5 separate regions of the Homo sapiens genome follow, and regions 2, 3, 4 and 5 are each linked to region 1. Evidence: promoter capture Hi-C in human tissues and cell types (Jung and others, 2019). All regions are on one chromosome and are shown on one strand. The core of a region is centred on a gene start or on the middle of the fragment in contact, and the rest is flanking DNA. Distances in the headings are between cores, read along the strand shown. Region 1 holds the start of SRRM2 (serine/arginine repetitive matrix 2). Region 2 holds the start of ZNF598 (zinc finger protein 598, E3 ubiquitin ligase). Region 3 holds the start of RAB26 (RAB26, member RAS oncogene family). Region 4 overlaps TRAF7 (TNF receptor associated factor 7). Region 5 holds the start of DNASE1L2 (deoxyribonuclease 1 like 2).

Region 1 (3,747 bases), core at 316-2,815:
GTGGGGGGGAGGGTCTCCCGGCTCTAGCATCTGAGATAAGTACATCCTCCCACGGGCAAGTGAAAAACAAATCTTAAAGCCGGATACGGGCCGGGCGTGGTGGCTCACGCCTGTAATATCAGCACTTTGGGAGGCTGAGGTGGGCAGATCACCTGAGGTCAGGAAATCGAGACCAGCCTGACCAATATAGTGAAGCCCCGTCTTTACTAAAAATACAAAAATTAGCCAGGCGTGGTGGCACACGCCTGTAATCCCAGCTACTCGGAAGACTGAGACACGAGAATCACTTCAACCTGAGAGACAGGTTGCAGTGAGCCGACAACACACCATTGCACTCCAGCCTGGGTGACAAGTGCGAAACCACGTGAAAAAAGAAAGAACAACAACAACAACAAAAAACAAGGGCCAGATAGGGTGTCATGCACGGGTAGTCCCAGCTACTTGGGAGGCTGAGGTCGGAGGATCGCTTGAGCCCCAAATTCGAGAACAGCCTGGGCAAAACCCTGCCTCTTAAAAACACCCCCAAATCGTAATAACAAATATAAATCCTTGCACTCAAATGGACAGTTCATTACGTGGTACCGCGTCCTGTTGCGGATCAAGGCCACCTGAGTTGGTTAGGACAGCTAAGCGGGACGTCCAGGGCTGCTCGCCAGCGGTGGGTCTAGATATGAACTTGTGCTTGAGCAGCCCAGCGTCTTACAACTCTGCTGTGAGGACGGCTGGCTGATTATCAGGCCCAGAATCACGGGCTTAGAAACATTAACAGGAAGTACGGTACCGAAAAGTGGAAACTTTAAGGTGCTTATTATTTTCCTCCTGCCTTGTTCCTGTATGTGCCGCTTCACCGGTATCACGTCCTGGGTCTGGTGGGACCCCGGCCTGGCTGCCCTACCGGAAGCTAAGAAAACTCCTCCCCCAGGGGTGGCCGTCGGGCCTCAGCCCGGTCTACAGCGGGAGAACGTGGCCCATGCTACGGGTAACTGGTTGGGCCCCTGGTGCAGGTCTAGGGCCTGCAGCCAGGCTCGGGGCCTCCGGGGGTGCCCGCTGGCTGGGGTCTGAGGCGGCTTCTCTCGGGTACGGGAAGGCGGACTGCTGTGCAGCTGCGGGCTCGCTCGGGAAACCCAAAGTCACACGAAAGCGGCAGCACCACCGCGGCTGGGATATCGTCTCCCAACATGGGGAGACAAAATGGCCGCCACGCCCCGAGCCGAAATTACATCCGGGCTCCGCGACACGCCCGAACCACAACTCCCAGAATGCTCTGCATCGACAGCGGGAGACGAGACGCGCTCGGGCGTCGCTTTGCTGCCGCTAGGCCCTGTGCTCCTCCCCGCAGCGGAAGGCCTACGAATACGCGGTGTCTTACGTCGCTTCCTCCGTTCTTCGTTGCACTGGCCAACGGGACGCTTAGTCTTTCGGCAACGGGGTGAAACCTTCCTTGTGCCTGAAAAAACGGTACTTCGCGGTGTGGCTTCGGCGCCTGCGCAAAAGGCCGCGGGGCGCACTCCAGTTCCCGGCAGGCCCCGCGACGCGCGTTTGCGTGCTGACGCACGCAGTTAGTCGTGCTGACGTGCAGCGCGGCCCAGGCGGGGTGCGAGTGGCGCAGTTGGAGCCCGTTGCGGCCCCTGAGGAAGCGAGGAGGCGTCGGCGTCGGCTGAGGCGGGCGGACCGGCGAGGCGAGGCGGCGGCCCCAGGCCCGAGGGACTCGGGAGCTCGAGCAGCGGCGGCGGCAAGACCTCTCCCCCTCGGAGGCGGCGGGCGGAGGCGGCGGGTGAGAGGGTGAGGGAGCCAGCGAGCCGGGTGGGGGAGGGGCGGCGGCCCCGGCGCGAGGCCAAAGCGCGCGGAGAACTGCCCAGGCCGCCGAGCTCCTCCGCGCGCACGCGCGCTCGACGCCCTTCGCTGGCGCGGACGCCCTCGCCTCCCTTCCCCCTTCCCGCCGTTCCTGTCGCGCGCGGGCTTCACCCCCCCCCGCCCCTCCCCCATGACAACGGCGTTCGCAGCCGCCTGTACTCGGGTTCGCGAGCGCCCTTGGTGAGGGGGGAGGGCGCGCGCCTCGGCTTCACTCCTCCCCCCAACATGTGCCGCCGAGGTGGCCTTCCTGCAGCTGCCGTTTTCGGCCCTTAAGTGGCGGGGAAGGGGCGGCGGCGGGGGGCTTGCTCCTGGACCCTTGCCCCCGGTTCCAGATCTCCTTTCCTCGGGCTTCTCTTCGGCGTTGGGCTGCCCGTGTCGGGGGCCTCCCAGACTGCGGGACGCCGCGCAGCCCCCTCCCCCATTCCGCAAGGCCGAAAATAGGCCCCCGGCGCTGCGGGGAGGGCCTTGAACTTCGTGGGCCGGATTTAAATGGTTTAGGATTCCCGGCTATCAGCCTTTGAGTTGTTAGTGGCGGGGAGAAACCCCAAATCTTAAAAACTGTGAAGAAAGTGAACGTGTTCAGTTTACATTTGTAAGGTAGACCGTGCGTTCCCTTTTTACACTTTTTCAACGTCTCCCGAGAATTCGTGTTCAAACTAAGGAGGCTTTTGGAGACCTTCGTTGGGAAGAAAACGCCAGACTCATATATAAGTTTTCTGGTTGGTTTCAGGCGTTCTTTGGCACACAGCTCTTCTGAAGCTTGGTTTCCACTCGGCTTCAGTTAGGACGAATCTGGATCAGAATTTCAGAGTGTTGTGTTGTCTTTCATCCTAAGTGCGTGGGCTTAGGGCTCTTCTAAAGCTACTATTTTAGCTTTCTGGGTTCTTTGTGTCCACTCAGCCGCTCTGGAGCGCCCCGGTGCTGAGCTGGCTGTGCTTGCTGATGTCCATTTTTTTCGACAACCCTTGTCTCCCCTTTTTCTCCCCTTTTGGTACCGTTTTCTTTTTTGCATATTTTACTGTTGAATTCAAATATATCTTTCTACTTCATTGTTAGCTTACCACTCGGATAATTTCCCAACAGAAAAGGGTGTTTTTGTCTTCCTTTGTACTTTTTACTTTCTGCTTTTAACTTGGGTAACTTTTGCATATCCACTGTCTATGGCCCCCACTTTAAGAGTTTTGTAATATCGTTTGGTTTGGTGATTTGTGTGTGGTGTTGATCTTCCTACTTTCTGTGTCTTAACACACCCCTTAGATGCCGTGGGGTCGTCGTCTTTTTTTGTGGGGTGGACTAGGTGGCTCATTCCCTAAAAGTTCTCCGAAACATTGTGACCTAATATCCTTTGCTTAGCACCTACTGGTTTTTCTTTTTTTTTTTTTTCCGAGACGGAGTCTAGCTCTGTTGGCAGGCCGGAGTGCAGTGGCGCGATCTCGGCTCACTGCAACCTTCCGCCTCCCGGGTTCAAGCGATTCTCCTGCTTCAGCCTCTGGAGTTGCTGAGATTACAGGCAATCGCCGCCGCCCAGCTAATTTTTGTATTTTTGGTAGAGATGGAGTTTCACCGTGTTGGCCAGGCTGGTGTCAATCTCCTGATCTGGTGATCCGCCCACCTCGGCCTCCCAAAGTGCAGGTGTTACAGGCGTGAGCCACCGTACCCGGCCTGGTTTTCCTTTCTTAAGGAGTGGGGGGATTTTTGTGTGAGGTGGTATGGAAGTGTGGGTGAATGGTTAAGCTGAAGAATTAAGTGCAGGTCAAAAACATGCTGCAGGGGAAGCAGAAATTAAGTGGGGTAGGGGAGAGGCGAAGAAGGACCTAGTTTTAAACCGTGAGGAGGATTGGTACTAGAAGATGAAAATGAGGATTGGGGTGTAGAGAAATTGATTTTTTGAGC
Region 2 (3,747 bases), core at 747-3,246, 740 kb before region 1:
AGGGTTCAGGAGTTGAGGGTTGCAGTGGGAATTCCTGAGCACGCATGGGACACAGAATATATTCAGGGGATGGTGCTGAACTCAGTAAGGAAAAAGGAGACTAGAGTGAGGCGGCAAGCTCAAGATGGGAAGAAAATAGAACGAATGCAAAGGAGAGGAGACCAGCAAACAGCAAACTTTCCAGGAGCCCCTCCTTCAGCCCAGTAAGGCGGGGTAGGCCCTAGAGGAAGCCGGCTGGGGGCACCCAGTGCCAAACCACACCCCGGCTGACAGCTCATGTCCGCAGCCCCCAGCCACAGAGCTCCTGGAGGGCGTGGGGCCTACAAGGAATGAGAGCGGGCAGAGGCTGCCACAGTAAGCATACGCAGATGTTCACTCATGTCTTGCATCAGACCTGCAGCCTGGGTCGGGACCTCACGTGCCAAGAACTCCTTAGCGTCTTCTTTCCGGAAGGAAGCTACAGGTGTGCTGGGAAACCTAGCTGTTGGAGAGTGAGGTCATGCTATGCAGGACTGGCTGGCAAGGCAGGCCCTGGCAAAGCCAGGAAGCGCCCTGAGGAAGCCACGGGCCAAGGTCCTCTGTGACTGTTCCTGCACCCCAGATCTCCCCGGGGTCTGGGTCGGCCTCCTCCTGTCACATGACAGACTGATAGAATCTCCAAATGTCTTTTTCCAAAAAGGGCACAGACTATAAGCCCACAAATTGCTCAGAGAATTGCAGCATCTCTTCAACTCCTTTGATGTAAACGTCTACTTAAAGAAAGAAAAGGAAAAAAAGAAAGAACCTACACCTCAATACTGCTCTGCATCACTTCTGGGGAGAAGAAAGTTAGATTCCTGGCAGATGTCACCAGCCGAAGCCTTCTATGAACAAACCGGGGGAATTTCACAATGCTGGAAGCAAACAAATCTCTAAGCTCAGCAAACCAACGGGCTCCAGCCAGGTGCCCACAGCCAGCAGCTGGCAGTGCAGTGAGGGTGGAGGAACGCTGCATGGTACCCTCTGACCCCTCCACGGCTTCCAAGTCTGTACAGTCAAAAACGTCTCCCATTCACTGCGGAGATGAGCGCCAAAGGCGGGGGGCGGCGGCGAGGAGGAGGACAACTTCCTAACACTTTTCTCCCTTCCCGCCAAGAAGCGCGAGGGGGCCTTCCCCTCCGACGGGCAGGTCTCCTTCCGAGGCTAGTGTCACCTCCACTCCACAGAGGAAAACGTCAGTCTCGGAAGGAGTTTGCTCAGGGTCATCCAATGGGGGCCCAGAAACACAGCTGGGCTGAGAATGCCCAGAGTTTGACGCCCTGCTTCCAGGACGGATGGCCTCCGCAGAGTCCCCCTTGCCTTGTTTCCTCGAATGGAGGACCCTGGAAAATAAACTCCTGAAGACGAGCAGGTCACCGAGTTCTCCATCTGATCAGGACCCTTCCTGAGGCCCGGCAGGAACCCCCGGGACACGGGGGAAGTCCCCAGGCTGTCCCCACAGGGCTTGCCCCCTCCTGCAACCCGCTCGGCCGCCTCCGGCCTCCAAGCCCCAACGCCCCGCCGTCAGCCGCACGGCCGGGACCCCGCCCTGGGTGGCCCCACCAGGCCTCTCTCGGAAGCCGGCGCCGCCGGGCCCACGGCCGGACCTCAGTGAGGCAAAGTCCCCATCCGGTCGCCGGGAGCCCCGCTGCCCCCGGGCCGCGCCCCCGGCGCCCCGCACCTGGCGCAGCTCCTCGCGGCACACGGCGCAGTAGCGCTGCTCGCAGAGCACCCGCATCTTGGTAGAGCAGCGGTAGCACACCGGGTGGTCGCAGCGGCCCCAGCGCCGTGGCCTCCAGGTCTCCGCAGCACAGCACGCAGCTCCCGCCTCCCCGCTCAGGAGCTGCCGCCGCCTCCGCCTCCATGTCCGCGCGCCGCCCCTCGGCGCCCCCCGGCCGCCGCCATGGTCCGGGATCCGGCCCCCCTCTCGGCCGGTCGTGGCGCCGAGCGGCCTGGCTCCCGGCGGGCCCGCCCCTTCCGGGCAAACGTCACCGCCCCACCCAGCAACGGGCCCGCCCGGCGCAAGTGCGCGTCGCGACTTCCGCCTCAGCGCGGCGCCGGCTAGAGCGGTGGCCCTGATAGAGGCCGCTCTACCATGAGCCGACCGCTCGAAGGTCCGCGCGGCCACGCGGCCAGCCCCGGGCTCCTCTGGGCCACGCGTGTCACGTCAACACTCGCCGGGCTCCACGAACTGGCGTTGTCAGATGAAACACGGCACAACTGGTTTGCATCTCAGATGAACAAGGGGTCATGTCTTAGTGTAAGTATAGCCCAAATATTGATGGGCTAGGCTCATACTAAAATGCTGCTCCTTATCTGAAATTGACATTTAAGTGGACCTGCCGTATTTGTATTTGCTAAATCTGGCCACCTTATTAGGAAACCGGTCTCTGGTATTTGGAACACACACAAGCGTGGTCCCGCCTCCACTTCCCTAATGCCCTGTTTAAATCCCTACATGAAAGACAACGTGAAAGGCAGCACGTGGTGACGTCCATCTCGCAGCCCAGGGCAGTCTCGCCAGGCCTGCCCAGAAGGGGCCTCTGGAAGGCACGAACGGAACCTGTCCTCTTTACGCTGGGCCCAGCACAGGACGTGTTTGGATGGATGCTGCAGTAACAGGGCCTCCTCCCTACCCTTGAGGGCCAGGCACACTCAGGACCTCCCTCCCTCTGCCATCCAGAAGGCAGGTCCAGATCTAAACCCTACTGGAAAAGAGGCAGTAAATTGTATCAATGAGCCTGAACTTTACTTACTTTATTTGAGACCGGGTCTTGCTCTTGCTGTAACACAGTGGTACGATCACAGCACACTGAGGCCTCAACCTCCTGGGCTCAAGTGATCCATGCCCAGTGAACTTGGACTTTAGAAACAGACACAAATGGGCTTGAAACCCCAATTTTGCCACTTGAAAAAAGCTGTCAGGCACAGTGGCTCAAGCCTGTAATCCCAGCAGTTTGGGAGGCTGGGTGGCCCGGATTGCTGGAGCCTGGGAATTTGAGACCAGCCTGGCCTACACAGTCAGGCTCCATCTCCACAAAAAAAATTTTTAGGCCGGGCGTGGTGGCTCACGCCTGTAATCCCAGCACTTTGGGAGGTTGGGATCACCTGAGGTCAGGAATTGGAGACAAGCCTGACCAAAATGGTGAAACCCCATCTCTACTAAAAATACAAAAATTAGCCGGGCGTGGTGACATGTGCCTGTAGTCCCAGCTACTCGGCAGCCTGAGGCAGTAGAATCTCTTGAAACCGTGAGGCAGAGGTTGCAGTGAGCCGAGATCACGACAATCACGCCACTGCACTCCAGCCTTGGCAACAGAGCGAGACTCCATCTCAAAAAAAAAAAAAAAAACACACACGACTAGAGTGCAGTGGCGTGATCTCGGCTCACTGCAAGCTCCGCCTCCCGGGTTCACGCCATTCTCCTGCCTCAGCCTCCTGAGTAGCTGGGACTACAGGCACCCGCCACCACGCCCTGCTAATTTTTTTTTTTTATTTTTAGTAGAGACAGGATTTCACCATGTTCGCCAGGATGGTCTCGATCTCCTGACCTCTTGATCCACCTGCCTTGGCCTCCCAAAGTGCTGGGATTACAGGCATGAGCCACTGTGCCTGGCCAAAACACACAAAAATTAACGGGGCGTGGTGACATGCGCCTGTAGTCACAGCTTCTCGGGAGGCTGAGGCACGAGAAACGCTTGATCCCAGGAGGCAGAGGTTTCAATGAGC
Region 3 (3,747 bases), core at 438-2,937, 600 kb before region 1:
GAGCAGCAGCTGGCAGGACGGGGTCCACTGGACTGGGAGTCCACTGCCCAGGACCCTGGGGCCAGTGCACAGCAGCTGCTGAGGCCCCCAGCTCAGACCCTGGGCCAGCCATCCTGAAAGAGGCCTTGTAGCGCGGGTGGACACCTGGAGTCCCCAGGGCTGCAGCTGCAGAAGCTAAATGCCTCTACCCAGGCCCAGTGCACACACACTGGGGGTTGGTCTGGAAGAGCTGGGGGGCCAGAGGAGTGAGACAAGGAAGGGTTCTGAGAGGGCTTCCGGGTTTGACCCCCAGCTCTGCCAGGTTCCTGGGGATTAAGTCTACAGGGATTTCTGCCATGGGACGGTTTATGTTCTCTGGAGCTGGAGATCACAGGAACAAATCCTAGCTCTGCCCTTCCTAGCCTGCTGACCTTGCACAGGCTCCTTGCCTTTCTGGGCCTCGGTTTCCCCATCTGGACACTGAGGGCAGTACCCACCTTGCAGGATAACTTTGAAGAGGTCGTGTGCCTGGCACACAACAGTGCTTGCTGTAGGGCAGGCTTCCACGGCCTCTGCCAGGCCCTCTCGAGGAATCACTCTGCTGGGCAGTGCCCCCCATCTGTGTTTTCTCAGGCCTCTGACCCGAGAGGCAGCCAATTGTTTGGACTCTGGGCACTGCCAGCTGGGAGGGCTCAGGTCTCTGAAGGGCCCAAGGTCCTGGTGACAGCTGTCAGGTCTCCGGGGACAGCTGGGTCATCTCTCCAGCTCCCAAAGAAACACCAAGAAGCCCCTGCATGCCAAGGACACCACCCCTCTGGACCACTGTGCCCCAGCTCTGACCACTGCAGTCCCATCTTCTCTGTGAGAGGGGGTGACAGAGCTCCAGTGCAGCCCAGGTTGGGGAGGTGGGTCTGCCAGGGACCAGCTTAGGATTTGGAGAATCGGCCCTGGCCACCTGAAGGTCCGAACCTGGAGGAGAAGGACAAGGGGCCAGCCACACAGCCTGGGCAGGGGCCTCTGCTTTCCACCTTTCAGACCCTGAGGGCAGAGTCCCGTGGGAGGGGACCCTCAGGGGGCCGGGGGCTGGCTGCCACAGCGACTTCCTCCTTCCCGCAGATCCCCAGGCGTGCACAGCAGGCAGAAGCTGTGGGGGAGATCGCAGCGCCCGCTGTGTCCTCCCGGTGACCAGCTGTCACCTGAGCCCAGGGCGCCTGCCCCAGCAGCCTGGTGTGTTTGCCAAGCCAGGGCTGGAGCTTCCTGGACCCGCCTACCCTGGAGGGGATGGAGCAGTGAAGGGCACCGGGCCAAGCGCTAGGCATCTGGGGCTAAGGAGACAGAAGCCCGCGGTGCCCGTCCATGCGGGCCCTCTGCCCCAGCACCCACATCTCAGGACACCCCTTCCTCCCAGGTCTGGCGGTCCAGTTTGGGGGTCACCGAGCTGGGGTGGTGTGCAGCCAGCAGAGGGGATTCAGGATCCCGGGGTGACTCCTGGCCCAGGCCTGTCACCCCACAGCTGGCTCCTGGCCCCAAGGCAGCCACGGGCAGGGGTCGTGATCGGGGGCGGGACGGGGCCCGGACCTCCTGACCGCCCCCCACCCCCCGCCGAGCGGGGGTGTATTTGCATGTCCCCGCCCCACGCACGGCATTGGCGGCGGCGGCGGGAGGCCGGGCCTGAGTGGCTGCGCGCCCGTGGAGCGGCGGGGGCGGGGCGCGAGCCGGGCGCCCGGGATGATGCCGCCGCCGCCGCCGCCGCCGCCGCCGCCGCCAGGGGAAGGGTTCGGGTCCGGGTCGGGCTCGGCGGGCGCGGGGTGCGGGACGGCCCAGGGCACGGCGGCTGCAGCGGGAGCACACTGAGCGCCCGCCCGCCATGTCCAGGAAGAAGACCCCCAAGAGCAAAGGGGCCAGCACCCCCGCTGCCTCCACGCTGCCCACCGCCAACGGGGCCCGACCGGCGCGCTCCGGGACTGCGCTTTCCGGCCCCGACGCGCCGCCCAACGGGCCCTTGCAGCCCGGCCGGCCCTCGCTTGGCGGCGGTGTCGACTTCTACGACGTCGCCTTCAAGGTGAGCCAGGCACCCGCCCCCCAGGCCAGCGCAGCAGGTGGCGCCCGGCCTGAGCCAAGGGTTGGGGGTCGGACAGGGGGTGCAGGGCCCGCGGCCCCAGGGCGCGGAGCCGACGCGGGAGGAACCCCGTGGGGCTTGCACGGTGCATCGTGCACACACAGCTGTCCATCCCAGGTCTGGGGTATCCAACAGCTGGCAGGGCCTGTCCCCCACCCCCCAGGCGGCATGGTGGCACAAGGGGTCCCGCGCCCCAGTGCCCTGGCCCCCGCCCGGGGTCTCACCATTTCCCGTATGCTGCCCTCCCTCAACCCAGCGGCTGTGGGCCTTTTTTTTTTTTTTTTTTTTTTGCTGGGGGGAAGAGGTTTGCCAGATGGATGGGGAACCCTGGGACTCCAGACCAAGGCAGAGGCTGTGTGGACTTGGCAGGGGGCTGGGAGGACCATTTTGGGTTTGGTAGCACAGGTTTCGGGGAGAAGGCCTGACTGCTGCCCACTTGCACCTCCCCCCAACCTCAGACTTGGCCCAGGTCCCTCTTCAGATCGAGATCTGATCCTAATGGGGCAAATTCCTCGAGCCTTGCTGGGGTCATGTCCCTACTGGGATGTGGAGAAGCCCCCGGCAGAGGCCTCCCCAAGTCTCTTAGGAGGTACCCAGCTGCCACCCCACCTGCTCCCCTCCCAGATGCTGTCCACCGTGTGGGGGTATGGACGTTAGGGAGGGTCCGGGATGCAGGTGGCTGCCCTCACTCCCCGCTGACTGAGACGGCCACTGTGCAGAAGGACAGAGCAGCCCCAGCCTTTCAGAGGCATACGCTGGGTGTCCAGCCCATCGGGGTCCCTGGCCCCGCTGAGCCTGCAGGCCTGGGCTGCCTCCCTCCACTCCTGCTCCTCACCTGCAGCCCCCTTCTGACCAGGCCAGCTCAGGGCAGACCAGACTCCCCCCAACCCTCCTGCTTGTCCTAGGTCATGCTGGTGGGGGACTCGGGTGTGGGGAAGACCTGTCTGCTGGTGCGATTCAAGGATGGTGCTTTCCTGGCGGGGACCTTCATCTCCACCGTAGGCATTGACTTCCGGGTGAGTGGAGGCCCTGGCCTGGCCCCACATCAGAGTCCCGCCGGTACCCGAGCAGCAAGTTCTCTCTGATCCCCATGGTACCAACAGGCTCGAGGCCTGGACCCCAGAAGCTGCCTGCCTCGACCTTCCAACACCTGGGCTGGTGGCTGCACCCGACAAGCATAGTTAGTTGCCCTATGCCAGGGGCTGGCATTACCGAGGGACCATATCCTGTGCCTTGGGGGAGGCGGACACTGTTGCCTACAGGGTGGTGGGTCAGAGGAAGTCAAGGGCCACGTCCACTTGGGGCCAGCAGTGCTGCCTCGGTACAGAGGCCTTACTGGGCCCTAGAAGCACATGCTCCCTGCAGAGCCTGAGCGAGGGTTTCCAGGGCTTGCCTAGGGGAGAGGACCCTGCTCTTGGGTGAGGAGCGCCCACCCCCACCCCCACCAGCTGGAATTCCTCGTGCTGAGGTGCCGGCTTGTCCTCAGCAAATCTTAAATTTGCATTTTTCTCACCCTTTAATTAGAGCCAGTTAGAGGGAGGATGGAGGAAGGGCTGTTCCAGGGACAGGAAAAGGGGCTCCCTCCAGTCTGGGGGTTCCAAGTCCCCTCAAGTCCTCTGGGATGGAGTGACGACTGAAGTGCCCGAGGG
Region 4 (3,747 bases), core at 676-3,175, 590 kb before region 1:
TGGGTGACCTGCACGGGTTCCAGGGGCGGGCTCATCTCTCTCCTGTGCTTTTTTCCGTGCAGTGCGGTTTGTGTGGAGTTGGGCTCCGGTGACTCACCCTGCAGGTTCTTTCTCTGGGGTGTGGCTGGTGTCTCCCCGCTGCAGCCTGGTGCTGGCTGGGTCCTGACCGCACCTGTCGTGGCAGGAAACACATTCGTCGTGCCTTGGCTGGTCCCTGTGTGACTGCGTCCCGCCACGTGGGCCACACCCTGGGCCTACCCACCAAGGCCCAGCCTTGGCCCCAGGGACATTCAGCCTGGAGGTGACTGGCTGTGACTCAGGACCCAGAGGAGTAGAGGGAGCCAGGCAGGGGTCCCTCCACCTCGGGGAAGAGCTGGATGGGCTCTTCGGGAGCTCAGAAAGGCTAAGCCTTGAGGGACGGTGACGCAGAGCCGCCTGCCTGCCCGGGCCTCTGCATACCTGGGATCGGGGTGAAGGACCTTTGCCTCCTAGAGGCCTGCCTGAGCCGGGGCTGGTGGTGGAAGGCTGCTGCGGCGGCCCCACGGTGCCCCACAGCAGGTCTGCACACTTGCAGCAGCCCGTCTGACTCACAGGGGCCTGGGCTCCATCTCTCAAGCCCCTCATTTGTGCTCCACCCACAGGAGGTGCTTCCCAAGGACCGTAGATGCCTCTCTAGAGCATGAGCTCAGGCAAGAGTGCCCGCTACAACCGCTTCTCCGGGGGGCCCAGCAATCTTCCCACCCCAGACGTCACCACAGGGGTAAGGGTGTGCCCCTCTGCAAGCCCAACATCCCCAGGACCCCCAGCATGCCCCAGGGATCTGGTGTTGCCTGCAGAGCTCCCAGCGCAGTCCCGTCCCGAGCTGGGGTCTCAGGGGAGCTCGGTGGGGGGGGGTGTGGTGTGTGTGTGTGTGTGTGTGCGCGCGCGCGCGCGCGCGCGCACGCGTGCGTGTGTGGTTGGGGCGTGTTAGTGCTGTGTGGCGCGGCCTGGTTGCATGGTTAAGCGTGTGAGTGCTGCGTGGCGCGGCCTGGTCGCATGGTTAAGCGTGTGAGTGCTGCGTGACCTGGCCTGGTCGCATGGTAAAGCGTGTTAGTGCTGCGTGGCGCGGCCTGGTTGCATGGTTAAGCGTGTTAGTGCTGCGTGGTGCGGCCTGGTCGCATGGTTAAGCGTGTGAGTGCTGCGTGGCCTGGCCTGGTCGCATGGTTAAGCGTGTTAGTGCTGCGTGGCCTGGCCTGGTCGCATGGTTAAGCGTGTGAGTGCTACGTGGCCTGGCCTGGTCGCATGGTTAAGCGTGTGAGTGCTGCGTGGCCTGGCCTGGTCGCATGGTTAAGCATGTTAGTGCTACGTGGCGCGGCCTGGTCGCATGGTTAAGCGTGTTAGTGCTGCGTGGCGCGGCCTGGTCGCATGGTTAAGCGTGTGAGTGCTGTGTGGCGCGGCCTGGTTGCATGGTTAAGCGTGTGAGTGCTGCGTGGCGCGGCCTGGTCGCATGGTTAAGCGTGTGAGTGCTGCGTGGCCTGGCCTGGTCGCATGGTTAAGCGTGTTAGTGCTGCGTGGCCTGGCCTGGTCGCATGGTTAAGCGTGTGAGTGCTGTGTGGCGCAGCCTGGTCGCATGGTTAAGCGTGTGAGTGCTGCGTGGCCTGGCCTGGTCGCATGGTTAAGCGTGTTAGTGCTGCGTGGCCTGGCCTGGTCGCATGGTTAAGCGTGTGAGTGCTGTGTGGCGCAGCCTGGTCGCATGGTTAAGCGTGTGAGTGCTGCGTGGCCTGGCCTGGTCGCATGGTTAAGCGTGTGAGTGCTGCATGGCCTGGCCTGGTCGCATGCTGAAGCGTGTGAGTGCTGCATGGCCTGGCCTGGTCGCATGGTTAAGCGTGTGAGTGCTGCGTGGCCTGGCCTGGTCGCATGCTGAAGCGTGTGAGTGCTGCGTGGCCTGGCCTGGTCGCATGGTTAAGCGTGTGAGTGCTGCATGGCCTGGCCTGGTCGCATGGTTAAGCGTGTTAGTGCTACGTGGCGCGGCCTGGTCGCATGGTTAAGCGTGTTAGTGCTGCGTGGCGCGGCCTGGTCGCATGGTTAAGTGTGTGAGTGCTGTGTGGCGCGGCCTGGTCGCATGGTTAAGCGTGTGAGTGCTGCGTGGCGCGGCCTGGTCGCATGGTTAAGCGTGTGAGTGCTGCGTGGCCTGGCCTGGTCGCATGGTTAAGCGTGTTAGTGCTGCGTGGCCTGGCCTGGTCGCATGGTTAAGCGTGTGAGTGCTGTGTGGCGCAGCCTGGTCGCATGGTTAAACGTGTGAGTGCTGCGTGGCCTGGCCTGGTCGCATGGTTTAGCGTGTTAGTGCTGCGTGGCCTGGCCTGGTCGCATGGTTAAGCGTGTGAGTGCTGTGTGGCGCAGCCTGGTCGCATGGTTAAGCGTGTGAGTGCTGCGTGGCCTGGCCTGGTCGCATGGTTAAGCGTGTTAGCGCTGCGTGGCGCGGCCTGGTCGCATGATTAAGCGTGTGAGTGCTGCGTGGCGTGGCCTGGTCGCATGGTTAAGTGTGTGAGTGCTGCGTGGCCTGGCCTGGTCGCGTGTTAGGCATGTGAGTGGGCTCCACATGTGCACGTCCTCCTTGTGTCCCGGAATGAGGCCAGGTCTCCTCCGTCCTCCCTCTAGACCAGAATGGAAACGACCTTCGGACCCGCCTTTTCAGCCGTCACCACCATCACAAAAGGTGAGCCCTTAAGCCAAGGCCAGCCCAGGCTGGGAATAACCGGGGCACCCCCATGCCCACCCTGCTAAGGACTGAGGGACACTTCCCGGTGAGCTGGTGTTGGGTGCCAGTGCTGGGCGCGGGCAGCCTCACACCGCAGCCTGTGTCCTCACAGCCTCTCAGCCCTGGGCCTCCCCACTGGACAGGAGTCGGGTGTCCTGCTCCTTGTGCCTCGGTGACTGTGCTGTGCCCTCTCTCCCTGCCCTCTTCATCCCCTCTAGGGAGGCTTGCCCTGACATCTCCAGCACCACCACACAGCCCTGTCCCTTGTCACAGTGATCCCCAGCTTGTCCCCAGTCTCAGGCTCCTGGCCAGCCTCCGAAAGGTCCCGTGTGCCCGGAGGTCTTCTCTTGAGTTTGGCCCTAGGGCTTCAGTAACAGTGCTGCAGTTGTGACATGTTAATAGGAAGGGAGGGAGAGTGGAAGAGATCCATAAGTCTGGTTTGTTTTTTTGAGACGGGTGTCACTCTGTCACCCAAGCTGGAATGCAGTGGCGCAATCTTGGCTCACTGCAACCTGTGCCTCCTGGGATCAGTCCTGCCACCTCAGCCTCCCAGGTAGCTGGGACCACAGGCACCACCACACCTGGCTAATTTTTTTTATGTTTGGTAGAGATGAGGTCTCACCATGTTGCCCAGGATGGTCTCAAATTCCTGGGCTCACGTGATCCTCCTGCCTTGGCCTCCCAAAGTGCTGGAATTACAGGCATGAGCCAGCAAGCCAAGCCCAATAAATCTTCACCTGCACAAGACCACTGGGCGGGATACACGACAGAAACCTGAAGCTTCCCTGCTGCTTCTCAGTCCTATCCCCTAAAAACCAGAGTGCTGCGCTTTGAACGCAAGCGCCGTGCTCAGGGAGACCATGCGGAAGTGGCAGTGCCTTCTTCCCGAGGTGCAGGGCCAGGGACCCTCATTCCGGGGTGGGGTTCTGGGGTGACTTTGTTCTCTCTCCTTTCTGGCACTCTGCCCTTTGTAGAAGCACACTGGCTGCTAATTAGCTTTTTAATTGCTC
Region 5 (3,747 bases), core at 697-3,196, 520 kb before region 1:
CCCCTCCCTTGGGCCACAGGCGGGAGGGGAGAGCTGTAGTCTGTTGTGGCCAAGGCCAGGCTGGCACTGACAGGTGTCTCCACAGAACGCACAGCAGGTGCACTTCAGGACACACCTGGAGGAGAAGCCGCACGTGTGCCAGTTCTGCAGCCGTGGCTTCCGAGAGAAGGGCTCACTGGTGCGGCACGTGCGACACCACACAGGCGAGAAGCCGTTCAAGTGCTACAAGTGCGGCCGTGGCTTCGCCGAGCACGGCACGCTGAACCGGCACCTGCGCACCAAAGGTCTGGGCCGGTGGAGGTGGGAGGGGGAGGGGAGGGGGCCGGGGCTTGCCTAGCCCTGACCGAGTCCCCACCCACAGGGGGCTGCCTGCTGGAGGTGGAGGAGTTGCTGGTGTCTGAGGACAGCCCCGCGGCAGCCACCACCGTCCTCACGGAAGACCCGCACACAGTGTTGGTGGAGTTCTCGTCCGTGGTAGCTGACACCCAGGAGTATATCATCGAGGTGGGTGTGGGGCCCTGGGGCCGTGCTGGGACCCAGGGGCAGCCAAGGCTGACCTCTGTCCTTCTGCCCATCTGCCCAGGCCACTGCGGACGATGCGGAGACCAGTGAGGCCACGGAGATCATCGAGGGCACCCAGACAGAGGTGAGGGGTAGGGCAGGCGGGGGCGGGGAGGCTCCCTGGCACAGCCGCTCTTGCTGAGCCGTGGCCCTGCAGGTGGACAGCCACATCATGAAGGTGGTGCAGCAGATCGTGCACCAGGCTAGCGCCGGCCACCAGATCATCGTGCAGAACGTCACCATGGACGAGGAGACGGCGCTGGGCCCAGAGGCGGCTGCCGCCGACACCATCACCATCGCCACCCCCGAGAGCCTGACAGAGCAGGTGGCCATGACGCTGGCCTCGGCCATCAGCGAGGGCACTGTGCTTGCCGCCCGGGCAGGGACAAGTGGCACTGAACAGGCCACTGTGACCATGGTGTCATCAGAGGACATCGAGATCCTGGAGCATGCAGGCGAGCTGGTCATCGCCTCGCCGGAGGGCCAGCTGGAGGTGCAGACGGTCATCGTCTAGCATGAGGTCTGCGGGGTCCTGGCCGGGCAGGGACAGGGCAGAGGACTCTGAGCGCCCCACCCATGCCTGCCTGGCCTGGTAGAGAAGATGGCACAGGATGGAGGCGCCCCAAGACGGACAGTGTACATAAGAGTTTCTTGTTGCTTTACAATAAAACATGAGAACCTGCAGCTTGTGATGTTGTGGCAGTGGCAGCCTCCGCGGCTGGTGCCACCACCTTTGCCCAGGCCCCCGCAGCAGCACCTGCCTCCCAGGCCACTCCTAGACTCACGTGCCTGGCCGCCCCACCCAGGGGCTTCTGCCAGCCCTGGCGGCGCCTTGGTGCTGTGTGGGTGTCATTGGCATGTTGACCAACAGCCTCCTGCCCTGCCCAGCTGGAGCTGTGCCCCCAGCTGCGCTGCCTGAGGCCTGTGGGTGGGTGGGAGGACCAGGGACGGGGACAGGGAGATCTGGGAGCCTCGGCCTCCACCGCAGGGTGAGCAGGTGGAGCAGCAGCAGGAGATGCTGGGTAGGGAGTGTGGCTGGTCCTACCTGCGCTGCCTTGCTTTCCCTGAAGGGATTCTGCTCAGGGAGGCAGAGTCTAGGCGACCTAATTTCTAGGGGCGAGGACAAGAACACAGCCGCACCGGGATGTGGCTGACCGTCTACCTCCCTCCTAGGGGGCTGGCAGGGGCTTCTGGGACGGTTTTGGGACAGGTCTGGGGCACCAGAACCGGCTCAGGCAGGTCTCCCACCCCTTACCCTGGGGGTCTCCATGGGAATGAAAGCCAGGAGTTCATCAGGCACCCAGCTGAGTCGAGGGGGCGGGACCCAGTGCAGCCCGGCCCCTCCCTGGCCCAGGACCTCAAATACCGGCCCCTGCCTTGGTGCCAGAGCTACTGCCAGAGGGAGTCAGTGCAGTCCTGTGTCGGACACGCCCGCAGCCTGGACCCGGGATCCCCATCCCCCTAGGATCTCTGAGCCTCGGGCCTCTGCACCCACATCCAAGGTGAGTCTCTCGGCTGCCCTGAGCTGGGGCTGGATGGGCCGGACCCTCCATTCCGGCTGCAGCTTCCCGCGCAGTGAGAAGGCAGCGGTCCCTGAGAGCCCAGCAGTGCCCTGGGAGCCTGCAGAACGCAGGGGCGGATTCCGCGTCGCACTGGCCGTCAAGGGGCGGCCGCGGAGGGAAGGGGTGGGTCGGTGGGTCTGACAGCGGGTCTGCGTAGGCGGCAGCGTCTGTCCCTCCCAGCCTCTCGCTCCGCGCCATGGGCGGGCCCCGGGCTCTGCTGGCCGCACTCTGGGCGCTGGAAGCCGCCGGGACCGCCGCGCTTCGCATCGGAGCCTTCAACATTCAGAGCTTCGGTGACAGCAAAGTGTCGGACCCCGCTTGCGGCAGCATCATCGCGAAGGTGGGGCCCGGGCCGGGGCGGGGCGGCGTTTAGGGGTGCTGACCGCGCTGACCCCCGCACCCGCCGCTCCTCCCCAGATCCTGGCTGGCTATGACCTCGCGCTGGTGCAGGAGGTGCGAGACCCAGACCTCAGCGCCGTGTCCGCGCTCATGGAGCAGATCAACAGGTGTGGTGGGCAGGGCCCCTCGTCGCGACCCCCCGCCGGGATCTCGCCCCGGCGCGGCGCCCCGACCCTGAGCGGGCCCCTGTCTCCGCAGCGTGTCCGAGCACGAGTACAGCTTTGTGAGCAGCCAGCCCCTGGGCCGGGACCAGTACAAGGAGATGTACCTGTTCGTGTACAGGTGAGGGGCGGGCCGCAGGGAGGGGCGCGCGGGGCCGCAGGTCGGGGGCTCAGCGGGTCCTCCCCATCTCCTAGGAAAGACGCGGTGTCGGTCGTGGACACCTACCTGTACCCAGACCCCGAGGACGTCTTCAGCCGCGAGCCCTTCGTGGTCAAGTTCTCGGCCCCCGGCACCGGTGAGCGGGCCCCGCCCCTCCCCTCCCGCCGAGCTCTGACGCCCCCACCCCTTCCCGCAGCAGCACAGAACCTGGTGCTGATCCCGCTGCACGCGGCGCCGCATCAAGCCGTGGCGGAGATCGACGCGCTCTACGACGTGTACCTGGACGTGATCGACAAGTGGGGCACCGACGTAAGCCCACCCCTCGGTCCCGGGGTCCCTGCAGGCGCGCCCCGGGGGTCTGGTTCATGAGGGCGGGACCTCGACGGCTCCTGCGGCGGCTCAGACACGGCTCCGCGGCGCCCGCAGGACATGCTGTTCCTGGGCGACTTCAACGCCGACTGCAGCTATGTGCGGGCGCAGGACTGGGCCGCCATCCGTCTGAGGAGCAGTGAGGTCTTCAAGTGGCTCATCCCTGACAGCGCCGACACCACGGTGGGCAACTCAGACTGCGCCTACGACCGCATTGTGGCCTGTGGCGCCCGCCTGCGCCGGAGCCTGAAGCCCCAGTCGGCCACCGTGCACGACTTCCAGGAGGAATTCGGCCTGGACCAGACTCAGGCGAGTGGGCCGTGGGGCGGTGCTGGTCTTGGGTCCCCACCGCCCGGGCGCACGCAGGCAGCAGGGAGGGTCCAGCGCCCAAGGCAGGGCCACCTCAGCTTCCTCCCTGCACCAGGGCTCGTTTCCAAGGACCCTGGAGAGCCCGGCCCACCCCATGTGGAGCTCTGGGCAGGCAGGGTACCTTGCCTTTCCCTCAAAGGGCCAGTGGTGACACCCTCTGCCCCGG

Evidence for each region. The method cuts DNA at HindIII sites, captures the fragments that hold promoters and counts their contacts. A contact is called where the count stands out against the background at its distance.
Region 2: the fragment with the promoter of ZNF598 here is called in contact with the fragment with the promoter of SRRM2 in region 1 in 1 of the 25 tissues and cell types used here (lymphoblastoid cells).
Region 3: the fragment with the promoter of RAB26 here is called in contact with the fragment with the promoter of SRRM2 in region 1 in 1 of the 25 tissues and cell types used here (spleen).
Region 4: a fragment that was not itself captured here is called in contact with the fragment with the promoter of SRRM2 in region 1 in 3 of the 25 tissues and cell types used here (dorsolateral prefrontal cortex, lymphoblastoid cells and ovary).
Region 5: the fragment with the promoter of DNASE1L2 here is called in contact with the fragment with the promoter of SRRM2 in region 1 in 3 of the 25 tissues and cell types used here (dorsolateral prefrontal cortex, hippocampus and spleen).

The regions. Positions count from the first base shown.
Region 1 is chr16:2,751,073-2,754,819 of GRCh38, forward strand. SRRM2 (serine/arginine repetitive matrix 2) reads left to right here and starts at 1,566. Exons shown (of 15, transcript NM_016333.4): 1 at 1,566-1,774. It overlaps SRRM2-AS1 (SRRM2 antisense RNA 1), which reads right to left and starts at 1,528. Exons shown (of 6, transcript NR_027275.1): 1 at 1,370-1,528. RefSeq lists enhancers at 446-1,288, 888-1,057, 1,118-1,407, 1,289-2,131, 2,132-2,974 and silencers at 1,588-1,897, 1,918-1,977. The HindIII fragment of the contact is 13,386 bases long and covers 1-3,747 here.
Region 2 is chr16:2,007,825-2,011,571 of GRCh38, forward strand. It overlaps ZNF598 (zinc finger protein 598, E3 ubiquitin ligase), which reads right to left and starts at 1,997. Exons shown (of 14, transcript NM_178167.5): 1 at 1,914-1,997; 2 at 1,801-1,912; 3 at 1,700-1,799. The coding sequence starts at 1,923. It overlaps LOC124903626 (a long non-coding RNA gene), which reads left to right and starts at 2,061. Exons shown (of 2, transcript XR_007064941.1): 1 at 2,061-2,278; 2 at 2,484-2,764. RefSeq lists silencers at 1,296-1,365, 1,376-1,805, 1,896-2,115 and enhancers at 1,723-2,671, 2,196-2,355. The HindIII fragment of the contact is 21,988 bases long and covers 1-3,747 here.
Region 3 is chr16:2,146,938-2,150,684 of GRCh38, forward strand. It overlaps RAB26 (RAB26, member RAS oncogene family), which reads left to right and starts at 1,688. Exons shown (of 9, transcript NM_014353.5): 1 at 1,688-2,041; 2 at 3,004-3,114. The coding sequence starts at 1,847. RefSeq lists enhancers at 689-1,240, 1,241-1,790, 1,791-2,342, 2,343-2,894, 2,895-3,446 and 2 more and silencers at 1,329-1,378, 1,389-1,658, 1,669-1,758, 1,849-2,018, 2,029-2,158 and 1 more. The HindIII fragment of the contact is 10,583 bases long and covers 956-3,747 here.
Region 4 is chr16:2,163,242-2,166,988 of GRCh38, forward strand. It overlaps TRAF7 (TNF receptor associated factor 7), which reads left to right. Exons shown (of 21, transcript NM_032271.3): 2 at 642-760; 3 at 2,638-2,695. The coding sequence starts at 680. Among named protein-coding and RNA genes, the nearest start is that of TRAF7, 9.3 kb to the left of the region's middle. RefSeq lists enhancers at 1-230, 231-730, 1,140-1,913, 1,914-2,686. The HindIII fragment of the contact is 6,093 bases long and covers 1-3,747 here.
Region 5 is chr16:2,234,498-2,238,244 of GRCh38, forward strand. It overlaps DNASE1L2 (deoxyribonuclease 1 like 2), which reads left to right and starts at 1,947. Exons shown (of 7, transcript NM_001374.3): 1 at 1,947-2,063; 2 at 2,281-2,463; 3 at 2,541-2,629; 4 at 2,721-2,804; 5 at 2,879-3,152; 6 at 3,270-3,521. The coding sequence starts at 2,320. It overlaps E4F1 (E4F transcription factor 1), which reads left to right. Exons shown (of 14, transcript NM_004424.5): 11 at 86-284; 12 at 362-504; 13 at 584-646; 14 at 719-1,245. The coding sequence ends at 1,075. The HindIII fragment of the contact is 25,906 bases long and covers 1-3,747 here.